Linked DNA regions of Homo sapiens: all the other regions are linked to region 1. Evidence: promoter capture Hi-C in human tissues and cell types (Jung and others, 2019). All regions are on one chromosome and are shown on one strand. Each heading gives the region's core, a stretch centred on a gene start or on the middle of the fragment in contact. The rest is flanking DNA. Distances are from core to core; before and after follow the strand shown.

Region 1 (4,583 bases), core at 766-3,265:
AAAACCGAGGCTTACAGAGATTAAGTAACTTGCTCAAGGTTACAACTAGGATTTTAATCCAAATCCTTCTGCTTTCAAAGCCATACTCAACCATCCTACTCTACCATCTCCAGAGGTCTGACTCAACTATGTTGCAGAAGAAAAGTTTCCTTAACCATGTAGAAAATAAGAAGAGCAGGCTGGGCGCGGTGACTCACGCGTGTAATTCTAGCACTTTGGGAGGCCGAGACAGGCAGACTGCTGAAGCTCAGGAGTTCGAGACCAGCCTGAGCAACATGGTGAAACCCTGTCTCTACTAAAAATAGAAAAAATTAGCCAGGGGTAGTGGTGCGCGCCTGTAGTCCCAGCTGCTGGGGAGGCTGAGGCAGGAGAATCGCTTGAACCCAGGAGAGAGAGTTTCAGTGAGCCAAGATAGCGCCACTGCACTCCAGCCTGGGCAACAGAACGAGACTCCGTCTCAAAAAAAAAAAAAAAAAGAAAAAAGAAAAGAAGAGCAAAAGAATCTCTGCATAGTTTTATTTTTTCTTTTATTTATTTATTTGTGTGTGTGTGTGTGTGTGAGAGAGACAGAGAGAAATAGGAGAAATAGGATCTTGCTGTGTTGCCCAGGCTGGAGTGCAGTGGTGTGATTACAACTCACTGCAGGCTTGACCTCCTAGGCTCAAGCGATCCTCCCACCTCACCCTCCTGAGTAGCTGGGACTACGGGCACAGGCTACCATGCCCAGACAATTTTTTATTATTTGTAGAGACAGGGTCTCCCTACATAGCCCAGGCTGGTCTCCAATTCCCCCACTCAAGTGATCCTCTCGCCTCTCAAAGTGCTGGGATTACAGGTGTGAGCCACCATGCCTGCCCTGTTTGTTTTTTAAACAGGGATCACGCACAGATGCTGAGAGCTTTCCAGCTAAAGCCCAACAGGGAGCCCCACTGATCATCTCCCCAACCGGACGTCTCCACATGGTTCGGTGGCTTGGCCAGGCAGCAGCACAGCATGCCTCTTCCTCATGAAAAGACCCAGGCACAGGAGGGAGGCTGGCTCTAGCGACCAGAATGCTGGTGGGGAACAGGTGGTTAAGATATCTTTCCCTCTTAATATCAGTCAGCATCCCTCTCCCCACGCGGCCAGCAGGCCCAGCCCCGGGGACCTTTGTGGTGGTGAGTGGTGCCTTCCAGTATGGGGCAGGGTGGCTTCCCACCTCAAAAATTTTCCAGAGAAGATTTTAAAAGCTCTTAAGAGACAAAGTAGTAATTCAACAATTAAGGGCAATGATTCCTAAGGAGAAGCCTTCTCTTCTAGAACAGCACAGCCAAGTTCGACAGGCACAAAGAAATATCTGTAGTGACAAGAGAAGGTTCTTCAGTGGTGCCCATCAGCATGTGGAGCCGGCCACCGCCCCTGCCTCCATAGAAGGTAAGTCCATTTTCTCTTGTCTGCATGACAGAAAAAGGAGGCTGTCACCCGTGTCTCCCACTCCAAGGGCCTAAGCGGCGCACCTCTCAACCTTTCCTTTCAAGGGCTGAAAGGTTGTCCTCTTCCTCTCCCCACTCGGCCCCGATCCCCTTTTGCTCGGCACCTCTCTCCCCACTACTCGGCCCCCCTCACACCTCTTCTCCCCACCCCTCTCCCTGCTAGACCTCTCTTTCTCTGTCCCCCGCCCCTTTTTACTCCCCGCTCGACCCCTTTTCCCTCAGCCCGCTGCCGCCCAGTCCGCGGTACCTTGAGGGTCACGTCGCACAGCTTGCCCTGCCGCCGGATCTCCTCCATGACGCCGTAGCCGCGACTAGGCAACTCAGACACGGAGAAGTGCACCAGATCCTCCAGCTCCTCCGCGCCGTCCTCCACCATCTTCCCCGGCCGCTGCAACTGCGCAGGCCTCGCCGGCCGGCTAGACACTAACCAGGGCGGGGCGATAGCGCACGCCGACAGCCGCTCGGAGCGCGGAGCAGCAATCGGACGGGCCTCCGCGGCCGCCGTAGTTGAATCTCCTCGGCGCCGGAAGCCCCGCCACTCCGCTTCCTGGTTCATGTGCGGCCTTCGTTCCCTCGCTATCTCGACCTTGACTTCGCATGTGCATCCGCCGAAGTCTTTCTAGATCAATCGGCCCCATCTCTCGTCTTCCCGATTCGGCCATGACCTCACCCGTATCCTCGACGTAGGACCTCGGACTTCATTTCCGCCACCCCGACACTTCCGGAATCCCCGGAAGCGACCCGTTGCCATGGCGACTATGTACACAGCCAGGCAGCCCCGCGTGGGGAGTGCAGGTGGTTTCGGTTGCGGCAGTCGCGTCCCGGGAGCGTCGCTGCCTGGTGAACGGTGAGCAGGGGCTGCTCGCCGGTGGGAGTGGGGAGACGGGAAAAGGGTGTGCGCCCGGACTGCTGAAAGTGGCTGGGGTCCAAAAACCGCTTTATCTGGGGGTTCCCAGCTGGGTCGCTCATCTCTGAAACCCAGGCGAAGGAGGGCTCGACGTCGCGGGAGTCCTTTCAACCTGACCGCGGCTTACGGTCTTCGGAGCTAATGTTCATTGGTCCCACAAAGGGGTCCCACGTCGCGTCCAGGACATAGAGGCCGTGAGGCAGGGAGCCAGAGGTCGTCTGGACTCTTCCGTACTAGTCAGTTTTCGAACTAGAGGGGGCTTTGGGATCACCAGTCGGAGCCCTTCGTGTTACAGGTGAGGAAACCTCTCCAGAGAGGGACCGGAATGGGTCCAAAGCCCACTGCCGCCCAGGCTCCACGCGGGGGTCCGGCACATTGGGTGAGAAAAAGGAGAAAGTCTAGTTTTGCCTGCATCCTAGTCTTGTTCAGCCAAGGCCAGGTGCAGTTGGACCCAGTGTTTTGGATTCGGGTGTTGGTGCTGCCGCTACGGGTAGCTATGAGGGTTCCCCATGACAGCCCCTCATCTGGACGGGAGCACTGGAAGATAGGGACCCACCTGGTGCCTTCCACCCCACCAAACGCTCCCTTTCCTCTTGTCTAGTCTTCATGGCTGCTTGTTGCCAATTCTGTTCATTCCCACTAAAGACAAATGAGGAAACCTCGAGCGCCTTAACACAGAAGTCTCCTGGTGGCCATTCAGAGACTTGCTTTGTTATACCAGAAATATCAAAGGGTGGTTCCCCAAGGAGAGACATTCCCCACAAGGTCCTGAGGGAGAAAGGGAGGGGGCCGGGCGCCGTGGCTCACGCCTGTAATCCTAGCACTTTGGGAGGCTGAGGTGAGCGGATTGCTTGAGCTCAGGAGTTCAAGACCAGCCTGGGCAACATGGCGAAACCCTGTCTCTACGAAAAATACAAAAATTACCCGGGCGTGGTGGTGCACGCCTGTAGTCCTAGCTACTTGCGGGGCTGAGGTGGGAGGATCGCTTGAACCCAGGATGTGGAGGCTACGGTGAACCGAGATTGTTTCACTGCACTCCAGCCTAGGTGACAGAGTGAGACCCTGTCACAAAAACAAATAAACAAAAAACAAAAACAAAAACAAAAAAAGCGTGTGGTGAGGTGCTGGATGTGGATTTTTGCACCTGGAAACCAAGTGTCCTCCTGGAAGGGCTGTGGGCTTTGGTTGGAGTTGTCATGGAAGGGGAGTGACATCATATGCCCCTTGGGACTCTCTCAGTAGTGACTGAAGATAGACCCACATATGAAGATTCAGCTGCCCTCTGACTTCCAGCCATTACCATCACCAACCACCGCCATTTCCTGAATACCTACTCTGTGCTGGGCTCTGCCCTGGACATTGTGAGGGGATTCAAAAGAGATAAAAAGCACAATCCTTGCCTTCAAGCAGCTTGTAATTTAATTTTGGGAACTGAAACCCACTCAAATGAAGCGACGTAAGAATGGTAACAAGCAGTATTTCAGTAAGTGCAAGATGGCATGGGGTCCCTAAATGTTTGGGTGTTAAAGGGCTGCTGAGTAGCAGGCTCACAAGACGGGTGTGCAAAGGAAGACTTTATTGCAGGTGGATATGGCTCCTGGCCTGCTTGGAGCCATGGTGTCAGCATGGGAGGGCCTTGGGAAGCATACATGGGGTGACTGCGTGTGCATGTGCATGTTGGCAAATAGCAGGGCAGAGAAGGGCCAGGCTCTGGAGGGAGAGTGATGCTTTTGCTTATTTGTTTTGTTTTGTTGAGACAGTCTCACGCTGTTGTCCAGGCTGGAGAGCAGTGGTGTGCCATCACTGCTCAAGTGATCCTCCTGCCTCAGCCTCCTGGGAAATTGGGACCACACGCGTGCACCACCACACTTGGCAAATTTTTAAAATTTTTTGTAGAGACAAGGTCTTGCTGTGTTACCCAAGCTGGTTCCTAATTCCTGGCCTCAAGCGATCCTCCCACATTGGCCTCCCAAAGGCTGGGATTACAGGCGTGAGCCACCATGCCCAGCTGAGGTTGATGCTCTGAACTGGCCTGTGCTACTCTTGTGCAGGGGCTTCAGGGAGAGAGGCCTGGGCACCTGCTCCCAGAGCTCCCCTGCTTCTTCATGGTCCCTTTCGGAGCATACCCTGGATGGCATCTGAATTTCCCTGGGCAGGAGAATGGGCCCTTGGATGTGAAGAGTGGTTCCCCGGTTCCCCAAGCT
Region 2 (4,583 bases), core at 718-3,217, 500 kb before region 1:
AATGCAAAGTGTGATTTTGAACTGGAAACTTTTGCTATAAAGGACTTCATGGTGCAATAGGAAAAACCTGAATGGGGTCTGGGGATGGCATCAGTGTTAATTTCCTGGTATAAATGATTGTATTGTGATTATGTAAGAGAATATATAGACTATACTTGTCTGTAGAAAATACACATTAAACTTTTTGATAGTGATGGGTATTATGTCAGCAACTTACTCTTAGATGATTCAGGAAAAGTTCTTTGTATTATATTTGCAACTTTTCTGTTAAATCTGAGAAAGTTTCAAATTAAAAACTTTTTTTTTCAGACGAGTTTGGCTCTGTCGCCTAGGCTGGAGTGCAGTGGCGTGATCTCAGCTCACTGCGATCTCCACCTCCTCCTGGGTTCAAGCAATTCTCCTGCCTCAGCCTCCCGAGTAGCTGGGATTACAGGCATGCACCACCACACCTGGCCAATTTTTGTAGTTTTAGTAGAGACGGGGTTTCACCATGTTGGCCAGGGTGGTCTGGAACTCCTGACCTCGTGATCAGTCTGCCTTGGCCTCCCAAAGTGTTGGGATTACAGGCGTGAGCTATCTCGCCTGGCCCTCTTGATCACATTCTATTAACTTTTTTATTTAATATATTTTACTGTCCGTGACACAGCCCTCAGGAGATCCTGAAAACATGTACACACCCTCATTTTTAAAAGATCTCAGAAACTTACCAGCAGTTAGTCACGTTCTCACAAGCAATTAGTTACTTGCTTCTCTGCGATCATATAGCATTATGTTCACAACTCCATTATGGCCAGTCATACTTTTTATGTTTCTGAAACAGGGTTTCGCTCTGTCGCCCAAGCTGAAGTGTAGTGAGTGGCGCGATTATAGCTCACTGCAGCCTCCATCTCCCCAGCTCAAGGGATCCTCCCACCTCAGCCCTCCAAGAGGCTAGGACCACAGGCTTGCAACACAACGCTGGCTGATTTTTGTATTTTTTGTAGAGACGGGGATGGGTGTGGTGGTCTAGAGCTCCTGGGCTCAATTGATCCTCCCGCCTCAGCCTCCCAAAGTGCTCCGCACCCGGCCAATATACCTTGTTAATAATTTAAAAATTTTCGGCTTCTATGTGGGCCATTCATTAACTCATCAAGTATTTACTGTACATCTGTTCCTTGTCTCAGGTGTTCAGGATACACCTGTGAACAAGTTAAGATTAGGTTCTCATGTAATTTATGTGGAAGGTAAATGAGAAACTAGAAACGCCGGGTCGTGGTGAGCGCTATGCAGAAAGTGTATGGGTGTGAACAGTTGTTCAAGATTGTTAAGATCTGACAACTACTTTCTGAAGTCCTTTGAAGCAGTGAATCTGAACGCGTCTCGTAAGTGCAAATCAGAAGGGAAGACCTGCTGAGGTCTCGAAAGAGCCAGTGCAAGGGCCCCTGGGGCAGGAATGAGCCGCTGTGGCTGGACCCCTGAGGGAGTGGAAGGTCTGTGAAGCCGAAAAGCCTAGGCGTGGGAGTCCCAGATGGCTGTTCACAAATGCCGCCGGGCCGCTGGGGGTGGAGGGCCTGAGGGAAAGCGGGGCCCGGCGCAGTCCCAGTCCGGGTGCAGGGCCCTCGGCCAGCACTCGATACCCTAGACAGGCTTTCCCTTGGGCATTTCTCGCACCAGGCCTTTTCCCTCCAGCGGAGGCGGGCTATGACACATAACCCACCTGCGGTTGTTGACCGCATAATGATTCGACGTCGGTAGCGAGGGAAGAGCAAGGCTCAAAAACCGGCGCTCACTAGGGCAGAATGCAGCCTACGGAGGATGGCGGAAGAGGCGGCTGAGGCCGCAGGACGTGCTATTCCAAGGCACGGCCGCACGAGTGCTACGCATGCGCGTGCGCTGGCTCGCGTCAGATACAGTGCCAGTTCCCAGATGGGGCGGGGCCGGGCGTCCGCGCCGGAAGAGGGTTGGCTGGGCGGGGCCGGGAAGCGGCAGTGGCGGCTACGCGCGCGGGGGTGCGCGCGGGAACGACCGGGAAACACCGCGAGGGCCGGGGTGGGCCAGGCTGTGGGGACGACGGGCTGCGACGATGGCCGCAGCGGCGGGCGGCGGCGGGCCGGGGACAGCGGTAGGCGCCACGGGCTCGGGGATTGCGGCGGCAGCCGCAGGCCTAGCTGTTTATCGACGGAAGGATGGGGGCCCGGCCACCAAGTTTTGGGAGAGCCCGGAGACGGTGTCCCAGCTGGATTCGGTGCGGGTCTGGCTGGGCAAGCACTACAAGAAGGTGGGTTCGCGCGCCCGTGGGGGCCGGGAGACCACGCGACCGGGGCCGGAGGCGGCAGCTGGCCTCGCGGGCCTCGGGCCGCCCCTCCCCCCCGCACGCCACGAGGGACAACAAAGGCAGGCGCCGGGCCCGCCACGCCCCCGCCGCCCGCTCTGGGCGCCCGCGATCCCGGGGCCTGACTGGGGTTCGGGGCTCTCTCCTCTGAGCCTACGCACCCATGGTGAAAGCCCCTGCTCAGTCTCGTGTGCCAGAGCAGGTCGAGCTCAGCCACTAAGCGAGTGTGACTCTCTCTCTTTTGTCAGCTGCCTTAGGTGTGTGAACAATGATCCCTAAAGACCGAGCAAGCGTGGTAAAAGCAGCTTCAAGTTTTGTTTAGAGCGTATTCAAAGTCTCGAGGGGGTTTGCTACCTGTTGTTGAATTGCTAAACGACTGGGATGATTGTATTCGTTAATTAATAACAGGCAATATGAATTCTAGGATGGATGAGAACTATTAACGACGGTTCTACCTCATCGTGCTTCTGGTTCTGTGTGGCGTGAGAGTTGATGGTCGCTTGTACGTAAAGTGTTCTAAAGGGAGGCCTTCCCCAAGAACCCAGTTTTTATTAGAGCACTTTTCTTGTGTCACCTTTATTTTCTTCGTAGTGTTTACCACATTTTGAAATTATTCATTTACTGATTTCTCCTACCTTTGGAACGGAAGTTCCGCCGAGTCAGTAGTTTTCAAAGTTTTGACTTAATCCTTTGTTTATAACAAATGTTTTTTTTTTTTCCAACTTCCCTTTTGTGTAAATATTCAGGAGGACTCCCTTAAAGGGTGTAATGAAGCAGGTAGCCGAAAAGGCTCCCCAGCCTCTGAAGTTTTCCTATCACCCTCTTTAGTTCTGTACTTTCTCCTATTGAGAATCATAGCACTGAAGCAAGGGCTTTGTTCACTGCAGTGTATCCGGGAACGTGGCTGATACTTATTGCCTTACCCTTAGTGGCTGCTTAGTAAATATTTGTTGAATGAATGAAAACATAAACTAGTTTAGGAACCTATTTTTTTGGCCTCAGCAGCTCAGTGAAGCCTGTCAGTGTTTGGCAGTTATTAGGCATGGGCAGGGATCTTGGGTTCCTTTGGCATTACACGTGGTACATTCAGAAATGACCATTTCTGGCCGGGCGCGGCTTGGAAGGCCGGGCGGGTGGATCACCTGAGGTCAGGAGTTCGAGACTAGCCTGACCAACATGGTGAAACCCCGTCTTTCCAAAAAATACAAAATTAGTCGGGTGTGGCAGCACATGCCTGTAATCCCAGCTACTCGGGAGGCTGAGGCAGGAGAATCTCTTGAACCCAGGAGGCAGAAGCTGCAGTGAGCCGAGATTGCACCATTGCACTCCAGCCTAGGTAATAAAGTAAGACTGTCTCCAAAAAAAAAAAAAAAAAAAAAACAAAAAAAAACCAAAGACCCAGAAATGATCATTTCTTTCTTTCTTGTTTTTGAAGGTCAGCTAGAAAAATTACATTTCTTATCTGAAGTTTGAGGAAGTGAGAGACAGTAATTATATTTTTAGGTGTCTGGACTTTTCCTCCTCTGAAATTACATTTAGACTGTAGATTTTTAGTAATATTGCCCTTTCTTACACAGTGATAAATTGGTCACTTTTTAAATGTAAGTAATAGAGCTTCCAGAAGTGGCTAATGGAATTGAATATGTTATGAAAATATTGGTTAATTCTTCTTTATTACATTCCTTTTAGCCAATGCTTTGGGTCTTAAATTCAGTGAAGCTTTAACAAAGAAAAATAATCTACAGGCATATTCCTTTGAATAATATCAAGGAAGAGAGTAGAAAAAGGCAAATTTCAGTAATTTCTACCTCTCCGCACTGTTCAGTGTGCATCAGTTTGGGATCAACTACAAGAAGCTTTAGACATGGATAATCCTTCGATATTTGTTTGGGTGGGTAGGGAAGTGGCTACAAAGCAGTTTGAGGAATTGCCCAGCAGTATTGAGACCACTAGGCTAATGTTGATTCACTATCCCTGAGACTTTATAGACAAAGTTACCTTTGACTTCTCAGGACTTTGTAAAGCCAGAGTGTATTTCTAGGGTCTACTGAGATTGAGAAACGTATATACCCTAGGCCTGACAGCCAGAATCTTTTCAGTCTCTGGGTGTTAGCGTTGAAGTGGTGAAAATATTATCACAAAGTTCTTTGCTTCTTTTCTACACAGTGCATTTCTATTTGGTGTACGCATTGGTTTTAACTAACCGTTTCTAGTGCATTTAATACTGCATTTTCAGAGCAGACAACAGTTTCAGTCTCAGTAAACATGATTT
Region 3 (4,583 bases), core at 899-3,398, 320 kb after region 1:
AAAAATCTGAGCCTCTCTCTTGTCTATAAAATCGAGATACAGCTTCTGAACTCATCAGTAGCTAGGAGAACAGAGAAAGATGCTGTCTATGAAGTGTCTAGCTCGAGATCTTGCACACAGGCCTTTTATAAACGTGGATGCCTGTCCTTTCTTCTTTACCCTCTTGTAAGTGGGGACATCCAGGTGGTCCTGCAGCCTTCTCCGCTGGGTGACAGTGGGTGGAACTGGCCCGGTTCCAGTGGAAGCAAAGAGGTCCTTCTCCTGCACCCTGGCTTTACTCATCCTAGCCCTAATTTTTTGAAGATGGAGTGTTAGTGCAAAGTGTTAGATTAAGAAGAAAATGGATTTGCAGTCACAGCCGAGGTGGAGTGTGAGTGCCCGTTCTTCCTAAGGACTCAGCTTTTCTGCCCAAGCTCTCAGACTCCAAGGTTGTGGAGGCAGTGAGAGGGAGAATCTTCTGGGTGGGAGATTTGGGGTTCCCAACACATACCTATGGTGAGCCAGCATTTCCTTCTGAGGCCCTCAATATGTTCACGTATGAAATGATGGTGTTGGATTTATCTGAGTTTCTCAGACCTACCTGTTCGTTGGGTTGTCTTGAGAGACAATTTGCAGTCCTTTTTTCTGGCCCTACCTCAGACCTATTGTGGTCTTGGTATATAGCCTATAAATTCATGCATTCTTAAAGTTCCCCAGGTGATTCTGATGAATTTTTCTGGACATCTCTGATCAGTCCCTGGCATTCTCTCATTGGAAGAAGGATACTTTTTTTTCCCTTGGAACCTTAGCTGCCCATGCTCACTGCAGGAACTCTGCAGCTAGCCACTAATAAGTATTTATTGAGTACCAGCTGTATGACAGGCCCTGGGGATACAGCTATGAACAAGACTTCCTCCTTGCCTCAAGGGGCTTCTATGGAAGGAGTGGGAATACTTAGAAACAAGGAACATGGTGTCCCTGTTTATGTGTCCCAGGAACTTGGGAATGTGGTGTGTGTGTTGGGGAGAGGCTGTGCAGCTGCCCAGGCTGGGAAGACCACCACCTGGGAGTTCTGAGACGGGGATGGAGGAGTGAGATGCCAAGATCTAGGGAAGAGCATTCCAAGCTGAGCAAGACTAGCTTGGCATGTTTGAGGAGTAGGAGTAGAGTGAACAGTGGGAGGTATGGAAGGGGGATGAGGGTGGAGAGGGCCTGGGAGGCTGGGCTAGTTAGAAGGGGGCCTTGCAGACCACCAAGGCTGGACCTCAGGCTAAGGGGGTTGGGGAACCACTGGAGGTCTGAGCAAAGCTGACATGCCCTTGGATGACTGTGTGTGGAGGTAGGAGGCAGCTGCAGGAGCCCAGGTGTGAGGCAGTGCGCACAGACAGGGTTCCTGAGATGGCAAAGTACAGGGGAGAGGGGCTTTGAAGGGGAAGGCAAGAGTCTGGCTTTGGCCACATTAAGCCAGAGATGACTGTTAGACAGGTAAGCGAAGAGAGACATAAGCAGGCATCTGGACTAGAAACAGATACAGGATATCAAGCCCTGGGGCTAGACGAGGCCCTCTGGTGACAGAGCTTAGACCACAGAGACAGAGGACTGGGAGATCATTCTGTGCCCTGAGGCTCGCTCTGCAGGTATTTAGCAGGAGTTAGAAGAATCCAAGGAAACTTGGTGGGGTGGGGCGGCATGAGGACAGTGGGGCTGAGAGAAGCCAGGCGAAGACTGGGGATGGGTTTTGGCAAGACAAGGTGATAGGTGAGCTTGGTCCAGCTGTTTCAGGGAAGTGTGTGGTGCCAGTGGAATCCAGGCCAGCTGGGTTGAGGTGCAGCATGCTGGCCAAAGCCTTCCTGTAAATTAAGCCTCCTTTCCACTGCTTGAAGTCCTCACTGGACCCCAGCCGGGACATCCATCCCTCCTCTCAGGAGGGTAGCGCCAGTCTGAGGCAGTGCCCTTATAGCCTTGCTGTCTGAACTCACCTGGTGTTTGGATGCTGGCAGCCTTCTTGCTAGTGCTCAGGTCTTCATATTGCCACTCTAGCAACTCTAGCCCTTTTCTTTCGTTCTTTCTTTCTTTCTTTCTTTTTTTTTTTGAGACAGAGTCTCACTCTGTCGCCCAGGCTGGGGTGCAGTGGCGCAGTCTCAGCTCACTGCAGCCTCTGCCCCGCCCCGTGCTCAAGCCGTTCTCCTGCCTCAGCCACCTGAGTAGCTGGGATTATAGGTGTGTGTCACCGCGCCCGGCTAATTTTTGTATTTTTAGTAGAGATGGGGTTTCGCCATGTTGTCCAGGCTGGTCTCAAACTCCTGGTCTCAAGTCGTCTCCCTGCTTTGGCCTCCCAAAGTGTTGGGATTATAGGCGTGAGCCACCGTGCCCAGCCCGCTTTCTTTCTTTCTTTCTTTTTTCAACCTGGGAGCACAGATTCAAGTTGCCGTAAATGTACACTCCCCCCTCCCCTGTCCTTTCTGTCCCTGCACGTAGGTCCTGAGGGCTGCACTGCAGCTCCTACAATATGACCACTGCTTCTGGGTCAGGCTGGCCGTTTCTCTCATGATTCCCTGCTCTCTGGACAGGTTGCTTTGCCCACCTGGCTCCGCCACCCTGCTCACCTTGGGATGTGTAGATAGGTAAGTCTCTTCACATCCTTTTTAGCTGGAAGATGGCCACAGTACCTCCTCCCTCCCAGGATAAGGGTTAAGTGAGATGGTGTGTGCAGAAGGGAGCTGAGAGGTGGGAAGTGTGATGTGTGCATTTATTCTTTCTCCTATACTCTTATTTTACCTCTGGTTGAGGGCCCCTTTAACTTGTACCTGAGACACCACAGATGTGGAGAAGTAAGGGACCAAACACAATCACACAGGGCCAATCCCTTGTCCTCTGGAGATGGAGCCAGAGGGATGGGCCAGGGAGCCCACCGCCTCCTGGCCAAGTTTGGGGGTGCTCTTCCTCTGGGATAGAATTGGTGCTGCCCTCATCCCTTGGAGCTTTGCAAGGAGGGGCTCTGCAGTGAGCTACAGGGAAGAGAATGGGACCCCGTTCAGTTTGGTCTGATATGCTGGGGAGAAACACCTGGCCTGGGCGAAGGGTGAGCCTCTCTCTGGATTTCCCTCAGAGGGCACGGTTTCCATCGAGGCAGATGGGTGGCTATTCAGGATCCTTCACGGTTTAGCTCACCTGTGGTGGCTGAAGCACCCTCCATGTAGCAGAAGAGGCACTAGACAGCCACAAGACAAGGTTCCTCTTTCTTGCTGTGCCAGTGACACAGTTGTTCCGCCACAGTCTCCCGTTTGGTTGACTTCTGTGGTATTACAAGGTGTAAGTTGTGTTCCCCAGGCCTCACTGATAGGGGGCAGGGAATTGGAAAGCAAAGGAATGTTGAAATTCAAGCTGGTTTTTAATCTTTCTGTTAGCTTTTGCAACAAAAGAATTTGCATGGTCTTGATGGTGAATCCCTCAGTTTTTTTCTCCTGTCTCCTGGAGCCAGGAGGGTGTGAATGGGATGTGCTTCCCTCTCAGTGTCCAAGTAGCTGTCTTCTGGGTGTGCTTGGGAGTCCTTAATCTTCTCTTTGGAGGACTTTTTCCTTATGGTCCTCTTGACTGAGTTAGTTCTCTCTAGATTTTAATTATTTTATTTTATTTTATTTATTTTATTTTATTTTTTTATTGATCATTCTTGGGTGTTTCTCGCAGAGGGGGATATGGCAGGGTCATAGGACAATAGTGGAGGGAAGGTCAGCAGATAAACAAGTGAACAAAGGTCTCTGGTTTTCCTAGGCAGAGGACCCTGCGGCCTTCAGCAGTGTTTGTGTCCCTGGGTACTTGAGATTAGGGAGTGGTAATGACTCTTAACGAGCATGCTGCCTTCAAGCATCTGTTTAACAAAGCACATCTTGCACCGCCCTTAATCCATTTAACCCTGAGTGGACACAGCACACGTTTCAGAGAGCATGGGGTTGGGGGTAAGGTCATAGATCAACAGGATCCCAAGGCAGAAGAATTTTTCTTAGTACAGAACAAAATGAAAAGTCTCCCATGTCTACTTCTTTCTACACAGACACAGCAACCATCCGATTTCTCAATCTTTTCCCCACCTTTCCCCCTTTTCTGTTCCTCAAAACCGCCATTGTCATCATGGCCCGTTCTCAATGAGCTGTTGGGTACACCTCCCAGACGGGTGGTGGCCGGGTAGAGGGGCTCCTCACTTCCCAGAAGGGGCGGCCGGGCAGAAGCGCCCCCCACCTCCCAGACGGGGCGGCTGGCCGGGCGGGGGCTGACCCCCCACCTCCCTCCCGGATGGGGCGGCTGGCCGGGCGGGGGCTGACCCCCACCTCCCTCCCGGACGGGGTGGCTGCCGGGCGGAGGGGCTCCTCACTTCTCAGACGGGGCAGCTGCCGGGCAGAGGGGCTCCTAACTTCTCAGACGGGGCGGCTGCCAGGCGGAGGGGCTCCTCACTTCTCAGACGGGGCGGCCGGGCAGAGACGCTCCTCACCTCCCAGACGGGGTCGCAGCTAGGCAGAGGCGCTCCTCACATCCCAGACGGGGCGGCGGGGCAAAGGCGCTCCCCACATCTCAGACGATGGGTGGCCGGGCAGAGACGCTCCTCACTT

The links. The method cuts DNA at HindIII sites, captures the fragments that hold promoters and counts their contacts. A contact is called where the count stands out against the background at its distance.
Region 2: the fragment with the promoter of SMARCC1 here is called in contact with the fragment with the promoter of KIF9 in region 1 in 2 of the 25 tissues and cell types used here (dorsolateral prefrontal cortex and hippocampus).
Region 3: a fragment that was not itself captured here is called in contact with the fragment with the promoter of KIF9 in region 1 in 1 of the 25 tissues and cell types used here (dorsolateral prefrontal cortex).

The regions. Positions count from the first base shown.
Region 1 is chr3:47,280,231-47,284,813 of GRCh38, reverse strand. KIF9 (kinesin family member 9) reads left to right here and starts at 2,015. Exons shown (of 21, transcript NM_182902.4): 1 at 2,015-2,319. KLHL18 (kelch like family member 18) reads right to left here and starts at 1,870. Exons shown (of 10, transcript NM_025010.5): 1 at 1,720-1,870. The coding sequence starts at 1,848. RefSeq lists enhancers at 1,887-2,276, 1,492-2,691. The HindIII fragment of the contact is 9,211 bases long and covers 1-4,583 here.
Region 2 is chr3:47,779,277-47,783,859 of GRCh38, reverse strand. SMARCC1 (SWI/SNF related BAF chromatin remodeling complex subunit C1) reads left to right here and starts at 1,967. Exons shown (of 28, transcript NM_003074.4): 1 at 1,967-2,257. The coding sequence starts at 2,063. RefSeq lists silencers at 1,224-1,283, 1,394-1,443, 1,854-2,073, 2,254-2,493 and an enhancer at 1,727-2,021. The HindIII fragment of the contact is 21,057 bases long and covers 1-4,583 here.
Region 3 is chr3:46,964,004-46,968,586 of GRCh38, reverse strand. All of the region lies in intron 1 of CCDC12 (coiled-coil domain containing 12), which reads left to right. Among named protein-coding and RNA genes, the nearest start is that of CCDC12, 10 kb to the left of the region's middle. RefSeq lists enhancers at 629-1,558, 1,559-2,489, 3,293-3,342, 3,399-3,956 and a silencer at 1,856-2,027. The HindIII fragment of the contact is 9,046 bases long and covers 1-4,583 here.